Regions from separate parts of the Homo sapiens genome. Here regions 1, 2, 3, 4, 5 and 7 are each linked to region 6. Evidence: promoter capture Hi-C in 16 types of primary human blood cells and fetal thymus (Javierre and others, 2016). All regions are on one chromosome and are shown on one strand. The core of a region is centred on a gene start or on the middle of the fragment in contact, and the rest is flanking DNA. Distances in the headings are between cores, read along the strand shown. Region 1 has its middle 92 kb from the start of C3orf38. Region 2 overlaps C3orf38 (chromosome 3 open reading frame 38). Region 3 has its middle 970 kb from the start of EPHA3. Region 4 has its middle 22 kb from the start of C3orf38. Region 5 has its middle 900 kb from the start of EPHA3. Region 6 holds the start of EPHA3 (EPH receptor A3). Region 7 has its middle 38 kb from the start of C3orf38.

Region 1 (3,090 bases), core at 157-2,656, 870 kb after region 6:
GGTATCCCATATGGCCCAGAGTTTACACAAACACAGTTCAAGGTGCTTTGAGTTACCAGAATCCAGTCTTCTTACATGCTTTGAGTTATTAGAATCTAGTCTTGGTTTCCACCCATAACCCCCTTTGGAATGGGTGATAAACATTGCTCAGGTTGCCCCCCAGCTATGGAAGGGCTTTCCAAACACATGGTAAAGTGCGTCAGTTTCCACCAAGAGGAATGATATTACATTCCAAGTGCAAGATTCTAACAAAAGGAACAATTTGGTAAAATGAAGTTGTAACTCTAGCCCTGAAAAGCAATAGTCATGATCAGGAATAATAGGATTAGGGGAACTATTCTTTAAAAGATATTAAAAAATCAGTGAAAGGTATTTTAATTCTAAATGACTGCTGAGTCTTAAAGTTCTCACTTACCCACTCAACTACCTATTTCATACTTACTAGGTTCTTGGGTGTTTTGCCTCTACCTCTCCCATTTCTGGCCTTGTTCTCAAGTGGTTAAACCTCTCAGCTGGATTTAAAGGAATTTTTATTTAACTAATTCTTAAAGTTATGAATTCCTGAGCTGCTTTAGGTAACAATGTCACATCAAATTGTTGCCCCAGATTTTCTTAACAAGAATGTATATGGAAATTTAGTTTTATGTTATTTTTTTAATTCATAGTTCTTTCCAAATCCGATAAATAAAGCAAATTCCATCACTTAGTGTTTTAACAAATTAAAGTAATTCTAGAATTTCTAATGTGCATTTTATGGGATGACATCATGACACACATTTGTTATGACTAAATACACTAAGAGAGCTGGTCCATTTATTGGCTAAAAGTCACCTGAGTCTCATCTGTTTTTCTATAATGTGAATTCTCTTTCATGGACGATTATAATAGGACAAATAGCACCATTAATTTAATTCTAAGCAAAAGTCCACATATTTACTCTAGTTGAACCAGTGTAGCTCCCATGCTCACAACTGAACCAGAGAGACAAAATGTGGTGGTTAGTTTAACAACAGCTTCACCAAATGTCATAGTTTTCCAAACCCGTGTTGAGAAAAAGGAAGTAACAACTAGATGCCAGGAAGGCAATCAAATAATGTCTGCTACCCAAACATTTCCTAAATATAGACTATAAGCATCTTGAGAGTAGGTACCTGTCTTATTCACTATCATATTTTCAGATCATAAAGCAGAGCACGTAACACTGCAGGCGTGTCATAATGTTTTACATTATGTAAGTATGTAAGTGTGTATGGATGAGTAGATGGATAATGAAATGATGGGGTTAATCATTTCCATGTCTGGCCAAAATGCTTTTCAGAAACCTGAGAATTAAAAGACTTGATAAATTATGTTTTGTTTTCATAATTAAGTGTTATGAAATGCTAATAAATTGCTAGTAAACAATAATCAAAATGATGTATTTTCCACAAGTAAATTTAGGCATAACTAAAGTTATACTTAATGTCCCAGCTCAATGGCTTATATAGGTTAACATTATCTGAGGTCAGAGTGCATGCTCCCATTTACACCTTACCTCATTGATGGATTATCAGTCAAATTGATTATCATTCAAATGCTTCACTAAACAAGAGACATGAACCATACCTTAAAAAATGTTGTGGTGCATTAAGCAGTTTCCTATGTGAGTACTATCAACAGAAAATATCCTGCCTTTGTGAAAATGTACGGGTCCTATCTGAGGAAGATTGATGATGTATTCTGTTTGGTTTCAACTGTTAAAGATTATGCAATATAGAAGTAGGCAATTTAGTTTTCATTAGAGAGCAAACTTCAGTTAGATAACTAGGTAATTGACAAAACAGACTTCTTTGGGCCCCATTCAAGACCCCAATTGTCCTCCCATAATTTTAGAACACTGGATAAGCAGACGAAACACACCTTTGTCATATGATGCTATTTTCTCCTTAAATTCTCACTAAAACTGAGACCCTTGTGAATGGTGTGCTAACCTTCACAGCCACAGCATTAGATAAGTAGATAACTGGTATAGAAACAAGATGTCAAGCTATTAGTTTTAATATATTAGTTAAGATTTCAGGACCTTGCCTGGATAGCAACAGCTGTAGAATTTAACCCAATGTAAAACAGACATAGTAAGCATTCCTTCTAATCTCACTGTATTAGACATAAGCTGATAGGACATTTGTTTTCTAGAGAAACCATACACATTAAAAAGTATATTTCCAAATATTAAAATATTTTCTTTTTAGCTTTATCTTTGATATTCCATTGAAACAGAAGATTTAAGATTAGGATGAATAAACTATATGGTTAGTTCTGAGCTCTAATATTAAGAGTAGGTTTAAGATCTAGTTCCCACCTGAGGCACTGGTTTGGAAAATTTCTCTGTGTACAGCAAATGGAATAAACACTGCGATGTGAATGTGGGGATTTTACATCCATTTTTAACTATTTTGGTGCTCTCACAGGTTCAGAATGTGGATTTATTTCACATAATCAACATTTGTAGAAATTGTGTGACCCTGAGAGCCTTAAGGTAGACAAAGAGGTTACAGAAGAGATTTACAAGACCCCAAAGATCCTCTTTAGGTGAGAAAATTCTTCTTAGGCCTCACGGCAATAGGGTTTAAATAGGTAGCTGACAAAATAATTTACAACAGTCCTGAAATTATTCTATCTTCCTCCTTGACAAACCATTTGCATTTAAGATTCATCTTCGTGAATCAACTAACAAAATGCTATTATCTCTGAACAGTTTACATTTTGTTAACTTAATTTATACCTTTAGGCTTGATCCAGTCCCCCCATAAGAAAGAGAAAACAGTGTAGAGCTCTGTCTGGGATGGAAACAAGGGAAATTCCTACACTTTTGTTTTGACCTTCAGGGGCGGGGCAGTGTTAGCTGAGAATAGGAAGGTCGAGGTCAGAAGCCCCGCTAGCTTCTGGGCATCAGAGTCCTTTTGTCCTCACTCTGCTTCATCCTAAAACTCAGTGCTAGTGCTATAGACTCTGAAGCTCAAACAATGGCCAAGTTTGTCTTTCATTTTCTTACCCTGTAGTTTGACACCTCTTCCTAGTTTTTTGTATGTTTAATTATTATGGATACAT
Region 2 (3,048 bases), core at 468-2,967, 950 kb after region 6:
AGATGCATTTGTAAAATACAATTATCCAGAGTTAGACAAAAGTAAACATGAAACTTAAAGAGGGGAAGCCTGGACCATTATTAATCCTTTCCCACATGAAAAGTGCAGATATTAGCAGAATATTCACTAAGTAAAAGGAAAATATTACCTGGTTTCTAAGGCACACAGTTAGCTGTAAGATCTAAAGTGGGATTTATTTGCATTAAGCTTTCAGAATACTTGCTGCAACTCGGGTAGAAATAGGTAAGTATTCACATGATATGTAAGTCTGTAGTCCAGAAAGGTATTTCAACTAAAATATGTCAATTTTCACATCTGAAATCATTCAGACATTACTGATATAGTATTTGGAAGAGTTTCTGTATAGAAGATTTTTTTCAGGCTGACAGTACTTAGCGCTTTAGAGGGTCAGGTAAACCCAGTTCTCTTTTGTTCAGCAATGTCTCATTTCCACTACCTCAAACTTGGTCCCCAGTTCCACTATCCGAAGCCTGCTTTACATTATGTCGTACTTCATTGGTACCACATACAGTGATTACATTATAAAAGGCCTCTAGATCACTTTGTTCAAATTTAACAGATGGTTTCGGTAATGTTCCAGGAGCAAGGGAACTCTCTCCCATAATTTTCAGGTTGATAAATTTGATTTTCCAAGTATTCTCCACAAAAGGGCAGCGGATGAGTCCAAAAATTTGTTCAAAAATGCCCAAACAAGTGTTTCCTCGATGGACAGTCCCAGCAACTCCAACCATAACCAGCCCATGAGGAGAAGATGCACATTTCAGTCCATGTGAATCTAGGTTGGGGCTGAGAAAAAGAAATTCTTCTTTTACTAGTGACAGCAAACGAAGGCTCACGATTTCTGCTCCATGGTAGTCCATAACATTTTGTTCTGATGTGTTGTAATAAAACCTAAGCTTCACATCATGCCAGAAGTGCTGTGGTCCCCATTCATCTTGAGGTGGTCCTAGAAAAGGATTCTGAGAATTAAGAAGTCCAAAGAACCAATGACAGAATTCTTCTCCTAGGCGACGAAAATCAACTTTTTCAGCTTTTTTATCTTCTTTCACCTGCTGATTGAAACAAATAAAATAAATACAAAATAACACTAAGGTTTAACTTTCATATCTATTTTTCTATCTAGCCTATTAAGTTTGAATGAACCCATTACACCAGAGAGAAATGAACCATATGTGAACTTGCTGAACCCATTATGCATAGTAAAAATCTTTTTTCAAGAGGAGAAAAATCATTTTAGAAATTTCCAGCTTAAATTGCTGAAAATTCAGCTAAGAGAGTAAGGTTTAGTAAGGCCAATTTAAAAATCAGTATGAACTTGGCGGGCGTGGTGGCTCACGCCTGTAATCCCAGCACTTTGGGAGGAGGAGGCAGGCGGATGGTGAGGTCAGGAGTTTGAGACCAGCCTGGCCAATATAGTGAAACCCCGTCTCTACTAAAAATACAAAAATTAGCCGGGCATGGTGGCGTGTACCTGTATTCCCAGCTACTCAGGAGGCTGAGGCAGGAGAATCACTTGAACTTGGGAGGTGGAGGTTGCAGTGAGCCAAGATAGCATCACTGCACTCCAGCCCGCGCAACAGAGCGAGACTCCGTGTGAAAAAAAAAAAAAAATCAGTATGAACAGTCATATATAAAAATATATAAATTATATGATGATTTATGTAAGTGTTTCCTCAGATTGTGGCAGTGTTTTCACAGGTATATATGTATATCACAGGTATATATGTGAAAACCTTCAAAACGTTCACTTTAAATGGATGCATTTTGCATATAAATGACATAAAGTTAATATAAGCAAGCATTTTCATTGTCTTTAAATAGATACTCTTACGGTGATTGAAACAGGTTATTTTCTATAACTGGGATTAATTTTATTCTATTATTTCTCTTTTTTCACAGAAAATGTTACTGTAAGCTGGGCGTGGTGGTTCATGCCTGTAATCCCGGCACTTTGGGAGGCTGAGGCAGGCAGATCACTTGAGGTTAGGAGTTCAAGACCAGTCTTGACAACATGGTGAAACCCCGTCTCTACTAAAAACACAAAAATTAGCTGAGTGTAGTGGCGCATGCCTGTAATTCCAGCTACTTGGGAGGCTGAGGCAGGAGAAGTGCTTGAACCCAGAGGGTGGAGGCTGCAGTGAGCTGAGATCATGCCAACTGTACTCCAGCCTGGGTGACAGGGCAGACTTTGTCTCAAAAAAAAAAAAAAAAAGTTACTGTAAAAATCTACCTGATACACTAGATCTCATTCATCCATGTGTTCCACAACACAGTACTTTACTGAGATGTATGAGATCTTAGGTTTACTGAGCACCTGCTATTTAATACACTGGGCACTGTGCGTGGCACTGGTTATTTGCCTAATTTAACACACCTAGTATATTGCAGACCCTAATTTGAAGTCGTATTTGTATGATTTCAAAGTCAATGCTCTTATCAGTACATAAAGTAAGAAAGCTCTTAAAGATTCTTTCCTAGTGTGAAGGCAAAGCTTTCTCACTGTGAAACCTCATTAATTCAAAAAATGTGGTATGTAGTTTAAAAATCTGCAAATTACATAGAGGTTAATTCAAGCAACACTTAAATATTTGTGCAGTATCTAAAATGTACAGTGGAGATAATATAAAGAACAGAAACAGCCAATGTCCGCTGGAGAATATTTCTACAATAGGACTTTTTCTAGTTAAAAAAAAAAAAGTATAAAAAATATTTAGGTTCCAATGTGGGGGCGGGGGCATCAAGAAAAATAGCTAACGCATGCTGGGCTTCATACCTAGGTGATAGGTTGATAGGCGCAGCAAACCACCATGGCACATGTTTACCTATCTAACAAACCTGCACACGTACCCTGGAACTTAAAAGAAAATTTTTTTTAAAGTAAAATTTTAAGTTCCTTTCATGACATTTTTGCAATACCAAAAACGTCTTAAAAGTGAGAAAGAATTTGCAATAAAATTCTTCTAAAGTGAAAAAAAATTACACGGAGCTAAAGTTAAAATTAACCTTGCAGTTTACTCTCTAAAAATC
Region 3 (2,781 bases), core at 98-2,597, 970 kb before region 6:
TCAGTAGGCTGTCATGGCCCCTCACAGTCAACATTCTCCCCAAATATATATATTTGCACATATATATTTATGTAATCCATATATATATCCATGTAGCCATATATATGTATGCACCAAATTTGTAAAATTATTGAGCTATACATTTACATATGTATTTTACACCTTAATACAAATTTAAAAATTTGAGTCAGTGGAAATTACTGGAGGAACTGGGAAAGCAGTCTTTTCATTCCTCTTGTATTTTGTGTTTTTGTGCATATGTGCCATAATAAAATCACTGAGCTTTAGTTGAAAAGAACTGGATTTAAAACATAGCTAAGTTTACTAGCAGTGAGAGTTTATGAAAATAATTTAGCCTCTTGAAGCTTCATTTTTGTCACCTGTAAAATAGAGATAATAATAATTATTTTATGGGATTGTTGTGAGAACTAAATAAGAAGTGGCTTTAAGCTGGTTACAGTGGGTCATGCCTGTAACCCCAGCACTATGAGAGGCTGAGGTGGGCAAATTGCTTGAGCTCAGGAGTTCCAGAGAAGACTGGGCAATGTGGGGAAACCCCATCTCTACAAACAAACAAACAAACAAACAAACAAACAAAAATTAGCCAGGCATGGTGGTGCATGCCTGTAATCCTAGCTACTTGGGAGACTGAGCTGGGAGGATCATTAGAGCCTGAAAGGGTGAGGCTGCCATGAGCCAAGATCATGCCACTGCACTCCAGTCTGGGTGACAGAGCAAAAATAAAAAATAAAAAAGAGTGAGGGAGGCTTTAGTTCACGTCCTCTAGAAAGTAGACTAAGCCTAGGGTGTAGGCCTAGGATGCCAAGGGTGAAACTTCTCCAGAATGTTTGCCAAGGATAATTTATACTAGTTTTCTCAATAAATTTGTTTTCTTGTTTCCTGTTATCCTCCTAAGATGAATAATTTTTTCCCCTTTCCCCTCTCTCTTTCTATTACACTTTCCCTTTCTTCCTTTCTTCCATTTGTTTTTTTCAGTATCATTAATTATAGGGGCTCAGAGGATGATAGAATTATTCAGTTGTTTCATCCACCACTTTATATTTTAACTGCTTAGAATAACAATACTAACACCACCAATATACTGACTGAAAACAGTTAAATATTTTTGTTGTATTCATGGTCCTCATTTTCTATTTCTAATAGTCATACTATGTCTACATTGTCAGAGCATGTAGCTGTTATGTATTATACTTCATCTCTTTTAACCACTAGCTACTCTTAAGTCTACATGTGAGTGTATAATGTTCACCACCAGTCAGTGTCTCTAATTATTTTCGTTGACTGAAGCTGTTCATTAGTAGATTCCTCAGAAGGAGCTCAAAGAAACATTGTTCCTTAAATTTCTGCATTTTGAGAATTTCACTCACGTCCATGTAAAGATACCACCAAACAGGCTTTGTGTGAGCAACAAGGCTGTTTATTTCACCTGGGCGCAGGTGGGCTGAGTCCGAAAAGAGAGTCAGCCCGCCTGCACCCAGGTGAAATAAACAGCCTTGTTGCTCACACAAAGCCTGTTTGGTGGTCTCTTTACAGGGGCACGGGTGAAATTTGGTGCCGTGACTCGGATAGGGGGACCTCCCTTGGGAGATCAATCCCCTATCCTCCTGCATTTTGCTCCATGAGAAAGATCCAACTACCACCTCAGGTCCTCAGACCCACCAGCCCAAGGAACATCTCACCAATTTTAAATCAGGTAAGCGGCCTCTTCTTACTCTCTTCTGCAACCTCTCTCACTATCCCTCAACCACTTTCTCCTTTCAATCTTGGCGCCACACTTCAATCTCTCCCTTCTCTTAATTTCAATTCCTTTCATTTTCTAGTAGAGACAAAGGAGACACGTTTTATCCGTGGACCCAAAACTCCGGCGCTGGTCATGGACTCAGGAAGGCAGCCTTCCTTTGGTGTTTAATCATTGCAGGGACACCTCTCTGATTATTCACCCACATTTCAGAGGTGTCTGACCACGCAGGGACGCCTGCCTTGGTCTTTCACCCTTAGGGGCACGTCCTGCTTTTCTGGGGGAGGAGCAAGAACCCCAACACCTTCTCTCCCTGTCTCTACCCCTTCTCTGCTTTTCTGGGGGGCAAGAATCCCCCGATCCCTTATTTCCACACCCCAACCTCTTATCTCTGTGCCCCGATCCCTTATTTCTGTGCCCCAACCTCTTATCTCTGCGCCCTACCCCCTTATTTCCATGCCCAGACCCCTTCTCTGCTTTTCTGGGGGGCAAGAACCCCCCACCCCTTCTCTCCTTGTCTTTACTCTCTCTTTTCTCTGGGCTTGCCTCCTTCACTATGGGCAAGCTTCCGCCCTCCATTCCCCCTTCTTCTCCCTTAGCCTGCGTTCTTAAAAACCTAAAATCTCTTCAACTCATACCTGACCTAAAACCTAAATGCCTATGTTCTTCTGCAATGCCACTTGACCACAATACAAACTCGACAGTGGTTCCAAATAGCCAGAAAATGGCACTTTCAATTCTTCCATCCTACAAGATCTAAATAATTCTTGTCGTAAAATGGGCAAGTGGTCTGAGGTGCCTGACCTCCAGGCATTCTTTTACACATCAGTCCCTCCCTACTTTCTGTTCCCAATGCGATTCATCCCAAATCTTCCTTCTTTCCCTCCTGCCTGTCCCCTCAGTCCCAACCCCAAGCATCACTGAGTCTTTCTAATCTTCCTTCTCTACAGACCCATCTGACCTCTCCCCTCCTCGCCAGGCCAAGCTAGGTCCCAATTCTTCCTCAACCTCCGTTCCTCCAC
Region 4 (2,700 bases), core at 9-2,508, 940 kb after region 6:
GTTCCTTCCACCATTATCCCATACACTTAATATTCATTCCCACACATGTTCCCTGGATTTCTGCTTGTGCGAACTAGAAAATTCAAATAGTCCTTTTGGAGTGTAGCATACCTCCTCATTGGTCAGACTTTGTACCTCACCTTTAGGAGCCTGCTGGGATTTGAGTCTAGTTATAAGCCTAAAAGCAAAAAGGTGATAGAAGTGGGTATGGGGAGAATCAGCATTGTCTTTCTCGGCAAATGCCTCAGGGGGCCATTATTATTTCCTTAGACAATGCAGGGTTAAGTGTAGAAAGGCCACTACCACTGTGGGTAAGAATGCCACTGCTTCTGGGGGTGGGAAGGCAACTTCTGCTCACAAAAAAGACTCACCAAAATTTAAGTGCTCAATGTCCCCAGCTTCATCATGTCTCCCCACATGTCTTCAAGTCAACTTACAGGATCCCATTCTTTCCCAATCAATGCCCTCACTTTAACAGTAGATGCCCTATGAGGCTAGGGATTCAACTTTCATTTAATTCAGCCAATCGCATGATGAGGACTTGTGTTTGATTTTTAGCAATTTTAGCCCTATGGCTCCAGTAGAGAAAATTTCCACAGGGTACATCTAGAAGCTCTGAGGTCATGTATGCATTGCTTGAGCTGGGAATTTGAATCCCTTAACTCATTCTTTTCTTTCATTACTTTGTGCAGTAACATTAGGAACAACCAATAAATATCATTATATTCCTTAGCACTATGGTAAATATTTGTCTCCTCCGAACCTCATGTTGAAGTTTGACCCCCAATGTTGGAAGTGGATCCCAATGGGAGGTGTTTGGGTCCTTGGGGTGGATCCCCCATGAATAGATTAATGTCCTCCCTGTGGGTGGAAAAGGGTAAGTGAGTTCTCACTCTATTCGTTCCCAAGAAATAGCTGTGGTTAAAAAAAAGCCCAGCACTGCCCCCCTTTCTCTTTTGTCATATGAGGTACAGATGCTGGCTCCTCTTCACCTTCTGCCTTGAGTGGAAGCAACCTGAAGCCCTTAGATGCAGATGCTCAAAGTTGAACTTTCTAGCTCTCCAGAACTGCAAGCCAAATAAATCCTTTTTCTTTATAAATTACCCAGCCTCCGGTATTCCTTTATAGTAACACAACACAGACTAATACACTCAGTTTTTCATAAACATTCAAAAGTATTATATACAGAGTCATTGATTTCCTGCCTCTTATAAGTGGTTGATTAGGAGTATCTAATGCAGATATTTTGATATCTGTATAACAGTTCATGCCATGGACAACCAGTGCTCTCTGTACTATTGGAAACAGAGTCCTTAGCATTTTTAAATATAATCACACTAGAGAGCCAATTCCAGAAGTCCCAAAACCAATTTAGGAAGCTCATCCTTACAGTTCTGTTCCTCTAGAATCACTCCTGGTATTAGGATTCTTCAGAGAAACAGGACCACCAATAGGATAGATAAATGATAGATAAATATGGCAGAGGATTTGTTAGAGGAATTAGCTTACATGATTATGGAGGCTGAGAAGTCCCAACCTGGAGAATGAGGGAAGTTGGTAGCATGGCTTGGTTCAAATCCAAAAAGCCTGAGAACCAAGGGGCACTAGTGCACATCCTGATGCCAAAAGGCTGGAGAACTTGGAGTTCTGATGTCCAAGAGCAAGAGAAGCTGGGTGTCTCAACTCCAGATGAGACAAAGTGAGCAAATTGCCTTTCTTCTGCCTTTTTGATCTATCCAGGCCCTCAGACAATTGGATGGTGCCTGCCCACATTACATCAGGGTAGATCTTCCATACTCAGTCCACTGATTCAAATGCCAGTCTCTTCTGGAAACACCCTTACAAACATACCGAGAAATAATGCTTCACCAGCTATCTGGGTATCCCTGAATCCAGTCAAGTTGACTCCTAAAATTAAGCATCACAGGAATATAGGACAGAGTCTAGCAGGGGTCCAATGTGGAGCTTCCAGTCCCTCTCCCATGGAGTCATAGATGGCTTTATCTCTTTCCAGTCACAATGTGGGACAATACTTATCCCAGCCTTTGGTGTTCAGAGTTTTTATTAGGGCTTGATCACCTATTTATTGTTTGTGTGGCTGAACTTTAGTCTACAGTTCCTCCCAGAAGTTGGGCTAATAGCTTTGAACTCAAGTTCCTCTGGAGGTAGGTAAAAATTGATATGGCACAGCCCAAAACCTATCATAAATCACATTGTTAGACTGTCCCACAGCCAAAGCCCTGAGGAGTGACACTCTTATGTTGCAGAACATTACAAGAGCCTAGAGCTAGGGGCAAAGGTCAGACCTCTCATTGGGTAAGGTTGATTATACACTAACAACTGCCTTCATTATTTGTTTATACCTGTATCTGTTCTGACCAGATAATATATGCACATAGCACAAAATTCAAAATATATATGTGTGTGTGTATGCGTGTGTACATGTGTATATATATACGTACATTCTCACATCTGCAAATAGTAATTTTTTTTTTTTTTTTGAGACTGAGTCTCGCCCAGTCACCCAGGCTGGAGTTCACTGGCGCGATCTCAGCTCATTGCAACCTCCACCTCCCGGGTTCAAGCAATTCTCCTGCCTCAGCCTCCCGAGTAGCTGGGATTACAGGCGCCTGCCACCATGCCAGATAATTTTTTGTATCTTTAGTAGAGACGGGGTTTCACCATGTTGGCCAGGCTGGT
Region 5 (2,713 bases), core at 49-2,548, 900 kb before region 6:
GAGAATGTGGGCTGTGTAAGATATACTTGACTTGACAAGTGTGGGAAGGGGATTTGGCAGAAAGATTCTAAAGATAGAGAACAGATAATTTTTTAAAAGAAAACTATTTTGCTTATGACATTGATTTAACTCATAAAAGTAGAAATTGTTTTTAATGCTAGCTGTCTCTTCATTTGGGACTATTTTAAATTCTTATGTGAATGATGATGATTTATGTTTAATTATCACATCGCTAACTTTTAAAAGCAGTTCTATAGTCTTAATTAATTATTTTGAGTAGGCAATCATATTCTAAGAAAACAACCAGAGGTCGGGTGCAGTGGCTCACGCCTGTAATCCCAGCATTCTGAGAGGCCAAGGTGGGTGGATCACCTGAGGTCAGGAGTTCGAGACCAGCCTGGCCAACATGGTGAAACCCCATCTCTACTAAAAATACAAAAAATTAGCCGAGTGTAGTGGCTTGCACCTGTAATCCCAGCTACTCAGGAGGCTGAGGTAGGAGAATCGCTTGAAACTGGGAGGCAGAGGTTGCAGTGATCCAAGATCGTGCCAGTGCACCCCAGCCTGGGCAACAGAGCAAGATTCGGTCTCCAAAAAAAAAAAAAAAAAAAAAAAGGGAAAGAAAACAATAAACTACAAGTAGCATAAGAATATCTTCCTTTTGGATGTCTTCAAAGATGGGACCTATGCACATAGTTGCCATAGTATGTGATTGAGATTAAATGAAATAAGCTATGTTTACTCTGTGGAACAAAAGAGGCCAGCTGGATTCCTGCAGAGCCAGTCCCTTGGTGCCAGAGAGAATCTTTACCAGGTCCAGTTAATCTCTTGCACCATCGATGAGACCTTAGAGGTAGCTGTGTAGATGTTGAATTGGAATTTTAGCTATTGTCATTCTAGAAAAGGGAATTAATCATTTACAGATAAGGTAAAAAGGAAAGAGAAATGTATTCTCTTACACAACATGGGTTTGAACTGTGTGGGTTCACTTTTATGCAGATTTTCTTCCACCTCTGCCATTGCTGAGACAGCAAGACCATCCCCTTCTCTTCCTCCTACTCCTTAACCTGCTCAGTGGGAAGACAATGAGGATGAAGACCTTTATGATGATCCACTCCCACTTAATGAATAATAAGTATATTTCTCTTCCTTGTGATTTTCTTAACTTTTTTTCGGCTTACAATATTGTAAGAATACAGTATATATTACATATAACAAACAAAATATATGTTTACCAACCACTTGTGTTATCATAAGGCTTCTCGTCAACAGTAGGCTATTAGCAGTTAAGATTTTGGGGAGTCAAAATTAATGTGGAGTTTTGACTGCACCAGAGGCTGGTTCCCCTAGCCCCTGCACTGTTCAAGGGTCAACTGTATTGAGAAAACAGTTTGAAGTCCAACTTGCCAGTTACACAATTGGCAGTCGGAAATACTATACAACACTTTCAAGATTCTGGAAGTCACAGTCTTTGGTAGCACATTTGTTTCACATGTATGCTCCAGCACCCAAATCGTAATTGTAAAGATGTCTATTGTTTTGCTGTATTTTCCCAGACAGTTATTATTTGTGTTCAACTGTGCACGAAGCAGGCCTCCTGATTGACTTAAGTTTCAGGGTGAAACAGAAAAGCAGGTGGGAGCAATGCCATGATTCTGCAAACTTTCAGAATATTGCAGCTTCCCCCCTTATCTCTGAGCAGGGAAATGCTTTCTGAAGTGAGCCGAACATTCACCAGACCTCTGTGTTACTTTGAAGTGCTTGCTTTTCCCAGCAGTTCTGACCGATCTTTAGGGGGAAGTGGAATTCTCTGAGCTGGGTGCCTCATGGACCATTGAGAGTGGCTGGTGTACAGCTGGTTTTAAGAAGGCAGAAACTTTCTCTTCTGAAGATTTAAATGCTTTGCAGGTCTGTAATGAAAGCAACACAGACCGTTGGCTGATTGCCTGACTTCTCTGCTTTCCTGAAAATTCAGCTCATGTGAGAGACAAGAGGGACACTAACTTACGTGGTGTGGACTTCCATCCGGAATATCACACTGGATGATGCCCTCATCATTGTCTTGAATATTTACTGCCCGTCAACTAGAAGAATAGGAACATTTAGTTATCACTTAGCTGTGGATGTTACCAATAAAAAAGCCACAAAATTGTCTGACTATTCTACATAAGGCCAAGGGAATATTTTCTCTAAATCCTTTCACAGTTTTAATTTTGAATAAAACAGAGTATGTATATTTTGTAATCAGCATTTTGTAAATTATATTTCTAAATGATGATAGGTACATCAAAATAGAATTTGGAGTCCAAAGTTCTAGTTATGTGTGAATGGTAGGGAAATTCTCTTCTAAAGTATGTATGGTCACTGCATTACAGAGCTCTTTATAATTAGCCCTTAATTATAAGAGAATTGACAGCAGTATTTCTCTAACTGGAATAGATAGTTTACTTGATTATGATGATTAGAGGACACTTTTGTCTATTGTTAGCTACAGGACTTTTGGCAAAAGTCTGATCATGCCATTCTTCTGCTCAGAACTCTCCAATAACTTCCCATATTACTCAGAGTTTAAGTCATTGAATTACTATTAGCCACAACGCCCTACATGATAAGTTCCACTGTTCTTCCACCCACCTCACCCCTCTTATTGCTTATATTACATGCCACTTGGCTCACTGCATTCCAGACATACTGATCTCTGTTGTTCCTCTAG
Region 6 (2,911 bases), core at 335-2,834:
ATTTTAGAATTTTCATTTTCTTATTTAGAAAAAAGATTCAGAACATTTAATGAAAACTGCCAAATTGATAAAGGCAGTCAGTAAGGAAGGAGATAAATTACTGCTCTATTAGCAGTGAAAGTAGGTCACCGAGTATCAGGCAGTTATTACATTTAATAAAAAACTTTCTAAGTATTTTGTTTTTACTCGTGTTTTTAAAATTAAGGTACATATACAACAGTATTGGCTTGACAATATATTTTCTAAGGAGTGATGTATATAACATGATGTTTGCACATCAGTTGCTCGGTATTGTTAACTTGCAAAATAAATTGCTAAATGTTACTGTTATAAGTTCAAAATCACTAAGAGGAAATTAATGTTGTAAGTGTGGCTTTACACTAATCAATTATTTAGAGAAGTTTGTTTTACGAGTTAGTGACTGTATTCACAAGAATAGATCACAAAAGGAATACAGGAGAAAGAAAATGTATGTATTAAGTACACAATCTTATAGAACACATTGGTGTCCTTAACATTAGGTTTGCACTTTAACCCACTGAAAAGGAATTAATGCTCATTACAAGGATAATAAATAACACAACATCAAGGAAATGCCATTTGCTGCATATGAACATTCTCTCTTAATCTACTATTCAGTTATTTACTATATCTTCCCAGGAGCTATCCACTATTCATTAAATACATTCTCCTATTTGTATATAAGCCTTTAAACAAAGAGAATCCAACCTAAGCTTATTGTAATTCTTGCAAATATTACTTACGTTAATGTGGCATATGCTGCTCTTTAGAACCTGTACCATAGAGCAAACCATTGCCTGGCGGGATACACACAACTTCAACACAGCCCTTGCACCATAAACACGCACCTCCGCTTCGACAAACTCTGATTTCCCTTTAGTCCATTCATAAATGCCATGATCCCAAGTAGGAACAACCTGTCATTACCTTTAAACATACTAAAGAGTCTAGAGAGGAAGGCTGAATTTTCTTTCAAACTTCTCGGAGTACCACATGGTCATAATTAGAAAATAAAATACTGCCTTGGCTATTTGGCAATTAACATAACTGGGTTGCAACGCTGGAGGATTTTCTTTCTTTCTTTCTGCTCAAATTGGCAAACAAGGTAATTGCTCGAAATGGTGTCAGATTAAAAACACATTTTCAAAGTTTAGACCATCTAAAATTATCTCCTGAAGTGTTTTAGAAGACAGTTGGAAAAAAAAAAGGCACATCTTTCCTTCACTCTCAGAGCAAACTGCTCTATTCGGAGGCACCTTCCCGACGTGCAAGGCTTCGGTGAGAACGTGCTTTGAAGAGCGTGAGCCCCGCGGGGCAGAGCTCCGTGCGTCGCGGTACCTGGCTTACCTTCATTGGAAGGCTGCGGAATCAGTTCCCCGAAGCTGTCGAGAACAGAGCAGCTGAGAAGGAGGAGGATGGAGAGCTGACAATCCATGTTGCTGGTGCAGAGGGCAGTGAGAGGAGCATATCTCCATGAAGCATGCCACTGATGTGAGGGGGAGCGCTCTGATTGCTGGAGAAGTTACCATGCTCCGCTCGCAGGCTGATGTCAAGTTTGACACTGGAGATAAGGAGGAGTCTGGCTGCCTTTCCGCGAACCCCGCTCGGGGACTTCCCTGGGTCCTAGTGCCGTCTTCAGCGTGCGCTGAAGCAGAGCGGGATGGCACGCAGCTGGCTCTGCAGCCCAGAGCTGCTCGGGAAGGAGACCGGGTGGGAGTGGGGGCGTCGCCCATGGGACAGGAAACACAGAAGATGTGATGAGGCCGCGGTGCTGAGAAAAATGCTCCCTCTTTTGTGTTGCATGAAAAGTAGCTGTTTTATTGTTTGCTATCCATGCTCTGTTGCTTAATTCACCGAAGAAATCACAGCCTTGATAGGAGTATCATATGGCAATGTGAGTGCAAAAGGAACTGAAATGCGAGAGAAACGTGTGTTTTGAAAGAATAGCAGTCTTTCGTTAAAAAGTCAATCATGTTTGTATAATTGAAAAAAATGATTATAGTTATTCCTTTACTGTGTTCAATGTGATCATAACTCTCCATGAGTTCTTTGTGATTCAGAAAGACACTAATACACAGCCTGAATCAGAGGGTCTCTGCATTTCCACACCCAATGGTATCGTGGCTTTTTACTAGATCTGGCACAGTGATTTTCCGCGCACATAGAGCATACTTTGTTTTTTTTCAAACAGGGAAGTTGACCTTCATCATCTTACGGAAGGGAGCAAGTCTAACCCCAGCCGGAGGTCTACATTCTTTTCTCGTTCTGTGTTGTAAAAGTAATACAGATCAAACCTAAATTTCTTAATAATACATATCCCCCTCCCTCACCATCTCACATTAGGATCTCTGGGTTCTGCAAGAGAAACAATGCATAATTCACAGCTCCTCCATTCAACTTTCAACCACTGATAGTCTAATAATATTGGGGTATTCTTATTCTTTAACATTCCAAATCCAAAAGCTAAATAATAATGTCCTCGTACTTTCTCACTTATTTTACACCATGACTATCAATGGTCTCTGTTATTTCCAATCCCATTGCTGAACAACCTATTGCAATCTAGTTCAGCCAAACAATTTTGTAATTTATATTTTAATAACCAGCATCACTTATCTTTAAAATATCTCCCAGAAAATGGTTACTCAGATATCCTTCCGCCCATCTATCTCTTCTTATACTAAAAAGAAAACAAGATTATTATATTCCTCTCACAACTTCAGAAAATAAAGGTATGTTGATAATCTTAAGATCAGTGATCAATTTTAGAGCTCTTGATAATGAAACTTAAATGAAAGTTTGAAAAGCCCTTGCTAATAATGTATTCAGTCCACAAACTCAATGTTTTTAGTTAGAGAACACAATTTTCACTTGAATTTAAGTTAATGGT
Region 7 (2,819 bases), core at 221-2,720, 920 kb after region 6:
TAGAAGCCTAAAACACCCAAGCCAGAAACGGCAAACCTTCCAGGTCTCCTTCCACCGCGTGGAAGCTTTACTTTCACTTTTGCTTTAATAAATCTTGCCCCCTCACACTCTTTGGGTCCGCGCGTTTCTCTAATGGAGCTGTAACACTCGCCACTGCGGTCACAACTTCATTCCTTGAAGCCCGTGAGACCCCGAATCCTTGGATCAAGAAAAACCTTTGATCGTGAGAAGACTTCTTGTCTCAAGATGACGATTGGATTTTACCTCTTTATCTAATACCAGTTGATTCGGAATGATGCCTGGAAAAATGTATTCAAGAATGTGTGACCTCCTTTGAGTTCAGTGGAAAAGAATGAGAACATTGATTACTGGTGTCCTTTATGGGTTGAAGGTGAAGGAGGGAGGAGGAGTTTTGGAATCAAGTCTTTGCCAACCTTACTGTAGACCACTAAACATTTACATTCTACAAACCTTTCCCTCTCCACTTCCACCACCTTGTCTAGCTATAAAAGCTTTCCTCATTCACATTTAATTTTTCACAGTTCCTCCAGAATACCCTCTTCCAGCAAAGTAATGGTTATATTTGGTGAGTAAAATAACTTTCTTTTAGATTTGCAACAGACAGAGTGGCATTCTAGAGCTTCATAGCCATCATCCATCATTGGTATACTATTAATGAAGAAGAACTGAGAGGCCAATCCAAAGAACATCAATTTGGAAAAGAGAAACCAGGATTTAGATAACAACAGGGAGAAAAAAAAATTGCGAATTCAGTGTCCCTCCTTGTGTCTGCGTCCAGTACTGTCCCTTGACTCCTCCTGAGTCATGAGTAAAATTCCCCTTGCTGCAGCCATCACCACAGCTGTGAACTCTGACGGCTGGCGTCTGCCCCAAGGCTTTCCCTCGAGTCCTCCCAGAGCCAGCCCCTCCTGGCAAAGATGATTCCTTTCATCCCAGTCATAGATGTCTCTTGTGGTGGATCTGTCAGTCAAAAGAGAACATGAGAAGCGTGATTCAGGAACAAAAGGAACTTCACAGAAAGATTTAGCCTGGTGCTTCTTAGATTCCTCTATTGCACTAAACATCTTTTTATTTACCAGATTCCAAATATACACAATTCCCAGGTAGTTTGCTTGACTGTATTAATGTTATGTGTATATATATATATATATATATATATATATATATATATATATATATGTATGTATGTATAAAAGCATCATGTTGCACATCTTCAGTATATACAATAAATAAATAAAAATAATAGATAAAATATAACTAATGTTGAATTTTCTACTCATCAGTATCTATTTACATATTTACATATAAGTTCCTTTTTCACGATTAGAAATTTTATTTGTACTCCTTCAATACGTGCTTTTATTCCAAGTGCCTCATATAATATTATCCCAGTGTGACACATTTTGTGCTCTTTTTTAATTATTATACTGTAAGTTCTAGGGTACATGTGCACAACGTGCAGGTTTGTTACATAGGTATACATGTGCCATGTTGGTTTGCTGCACCCATCAACTCATCATTTACATTAGTTATTTCTCCTAATGCTATCCCTCCCGCAGCCCTCCACCCACCCCCAAAAGGCCCCAGTGTGTGATGCTCCCCTCCCTGTGTCCATGTGTTCTCATTGTTCAACTCCCACCTATGAGTGAGAACATGCGGTGTTTGGTTTTCTGTCCTTGTGACAGTTTGCTGACAATGATGGTTTCCAGCTTCATCCATGTCCCTACAAAGGACATGAACTCATCATTTTTTATGGCTGCATAGTATTCCATGGTGTATATGTGCCACATTTTCTTAATCCAGTCTATCATTTATGGACATTTGGGTTGGTTCCAAGTCTTTGCTATTGTGAATAGTACTGCAATAAACATACACGTGCATGTGTCTTTATAGTAGCAGGATTTATAATCCTTTGGGTATATACCCAGTAATGGGATTGCTGGGTCAAATGGTATTTCTAGTTCTAGATGCTTGAAGAATCGCCACACTGTCTTCCACAATGGTTGAACTAATTTACACTCCCACCAACAGTGTAAAAGCATTCCTATTTCTCCACATCCTCTCCAGCACCTGTTGTTTCCTGACTTTTTAATGATTGCCATTCTAACTGGTGTGAGATGGTATCTCATTGTGGTTTTGATTTGCATTTCACTGATGACCAGTGACGATGAGCATTTTCTCATGTGTCTGAGGCCGGCATAAATGTCTTTTTTTGAGAAGTGGCTGTTCATATCCATTGCCCACTTTTTGATGGTGTTGTTTGTTTTTTTCTTGTAAATTTCTTTAAGTTCTTTGTAGATTTTGGATATTAGCCCTTTGTCAGATGGGTAGATGGCAAAAATTTTCTCCCATTCTGTAGGTTGCCTGTTCACTCTGATGGTAGTTTCTTTTGCTGTGCAGAAGCTTTTTAGTTTAATTACATCCCATTTGTCAGTTTTGGCTTTTGTTGCCATTGCTTTTGGTGTTTTAATCATGAAGTCTTTACCCATGCCTATGTCCTGAATGGTATTGCCTAGGTTTTCTTCTAGGGTTTTTATGGTTTTAGGTCTTACATTTAAGTCTTTAATCCATCTTGAGTTAATTTTTGTATAAGGTGTAAGGAAGAGATCCAGTTTCAGCTTTCTACATATAGCCAGTTTTCTCAGCACCATTTATTAAATAGGGAATCCTTTCCCCATTTCTTGTTTTTGTCAGGTTTGTCAAAGATCAGATGGTTGTAGATGTGTGGTGTTATTTCTGAGGCCTCTGTTCTGTTCCATTGGTCAATATCTCTGTTTTGGTATCAGTCCCATGCTGTT

What was found. The method cuts DNA at HindIII sites, captures the fragments that hold promoters and counts their contacts. A CHiCAGO score of 5 or more calls a contact.
Region 1: a contact is called between a fragment that was not itself captured here and the fragment with the promoter of EPHA3 in region 6, in 1 of 17 cell types (naive B cells). The highest score is 6.8, in naive B cells.
Region 2: a contact is called between a fragment that was not itself captured here and the fragment with the promoter of EPHA3 in region 6, in 2 of 17 cell types (total B cells and naive B cells). The highest score is 7.2, in total B cells.
Region 3: a contact is called between a fragment that was not itself captured here and the fragment with the promoter of EPHA3 in region 6, in 1 of 17 cell types (M0 macrophages). The highest score is 5.1, in M0 macrophages.
Region 4: a contact is called between a fragment that was not itself captured here and the fragment with the promoter of EPHA3 in region 6, in 2 of 17 cell types (total B cells and erythroblasts). The highest score is 6.1, in total B cells.
Region 5: a contact is called between a fragment that was not itself captured here and the fragment with the promoter of EPHA3 in region 6, in 1 of 17 cell types (M2 macrophages). The highest score is 5.1, in M2 macrophages.
Region 7: a contact is called between a fragment that was not itself captured here and the fragment with the promoter of EPHA3 in region 6, in 1 of 17 cell types (naive B cells). The highest score is 9.4, in naive B cells.

What each region holds. Positions count from the first base shown.
Region 1 is chr3:88,240,261-88,243,350 of GRCh38, reverse strand. No RefSeq gene overlaps it. Among named protein-coding and RNA genes, the nearest start is that of C3orf38, 92 kb to the right of the region's middle. The HindIII fragment of the contact is 4,837 bases long and covers 1-3,090 here.
Region 2 is chr3:88,154,046-88,157,093 of GRCh38, reverse strand. C3orf38 (chromosome 3 open reading frame 38) reads right to left here. Exons shown (of 3, transcript NM_173824.4): 3 at 1-1,073. The coding sequence ends at 459. Among named protein-coding and RNA genes, the nearest start is that of C3orf38, 5.6 kb to the right of the region's middle. The HindIII fragment of the contact is 1,595 bases long and covers 920-2,514 here.
Region 3 is chr3:90,071,678-90,074,458 of GRCh38, reverse strand. No RefSeq gene overlaps it. Among named protein-coding and RNA genes, the nearest start is that of EPHA3, 970 kb to the right of the region's middle. The HindIII fragment of the contact is 1,959 bases long and covers 368-2,326 here.
Region 4 is chr3:88,170,454-88,173,153 of GRCh38, reverse strand. No RefSeq gene overlaps it. Among named protein-coding and RNA genes, the nearest start is that of C3orf38, 22 kb to the right of the region's middle. The HindIII fragment of the contact is 5,278 bases long and covers 1-2,700 here.
Region 5 is chr3:90,010,469-90,013,181 of GRCh38, reverse strand. No RefSeq gene overlaps it. Among named protein-coding and RNA genes, the nearest start is that of EPHA3, 900 kb to the right of the region's middle. The HindIII fragment of the contact is 8,521 bases long and covers 1-2,713 here.
Region 6 is chr3:89,106,294-89,109,204 of GRCh38, reverse strand. EPHA3 (EPH receptor A3) reads right to left here and starts at 1,584. Exons shown (of 17, transcript NM_005233.6): 1 at 1,369-1,584. The coding sequence starts at 1,456. RefSeq lists an enhancer at 1,603-1,742. The HindIII fragment of the contact is 3,372 bases long and covers 737-2,911 here.
Region 7 is chr3:88,186,709-88,189,527 of GRCh38, reverse strand. No RefSeq gene overlaps it. Among named protein-coding and RNA genes, the nearest start is that of C3orf38, 38 kb to the right of the region's middle. The HindIII fragment of the contact is 1,912 bases long and covers 515-2,426 here.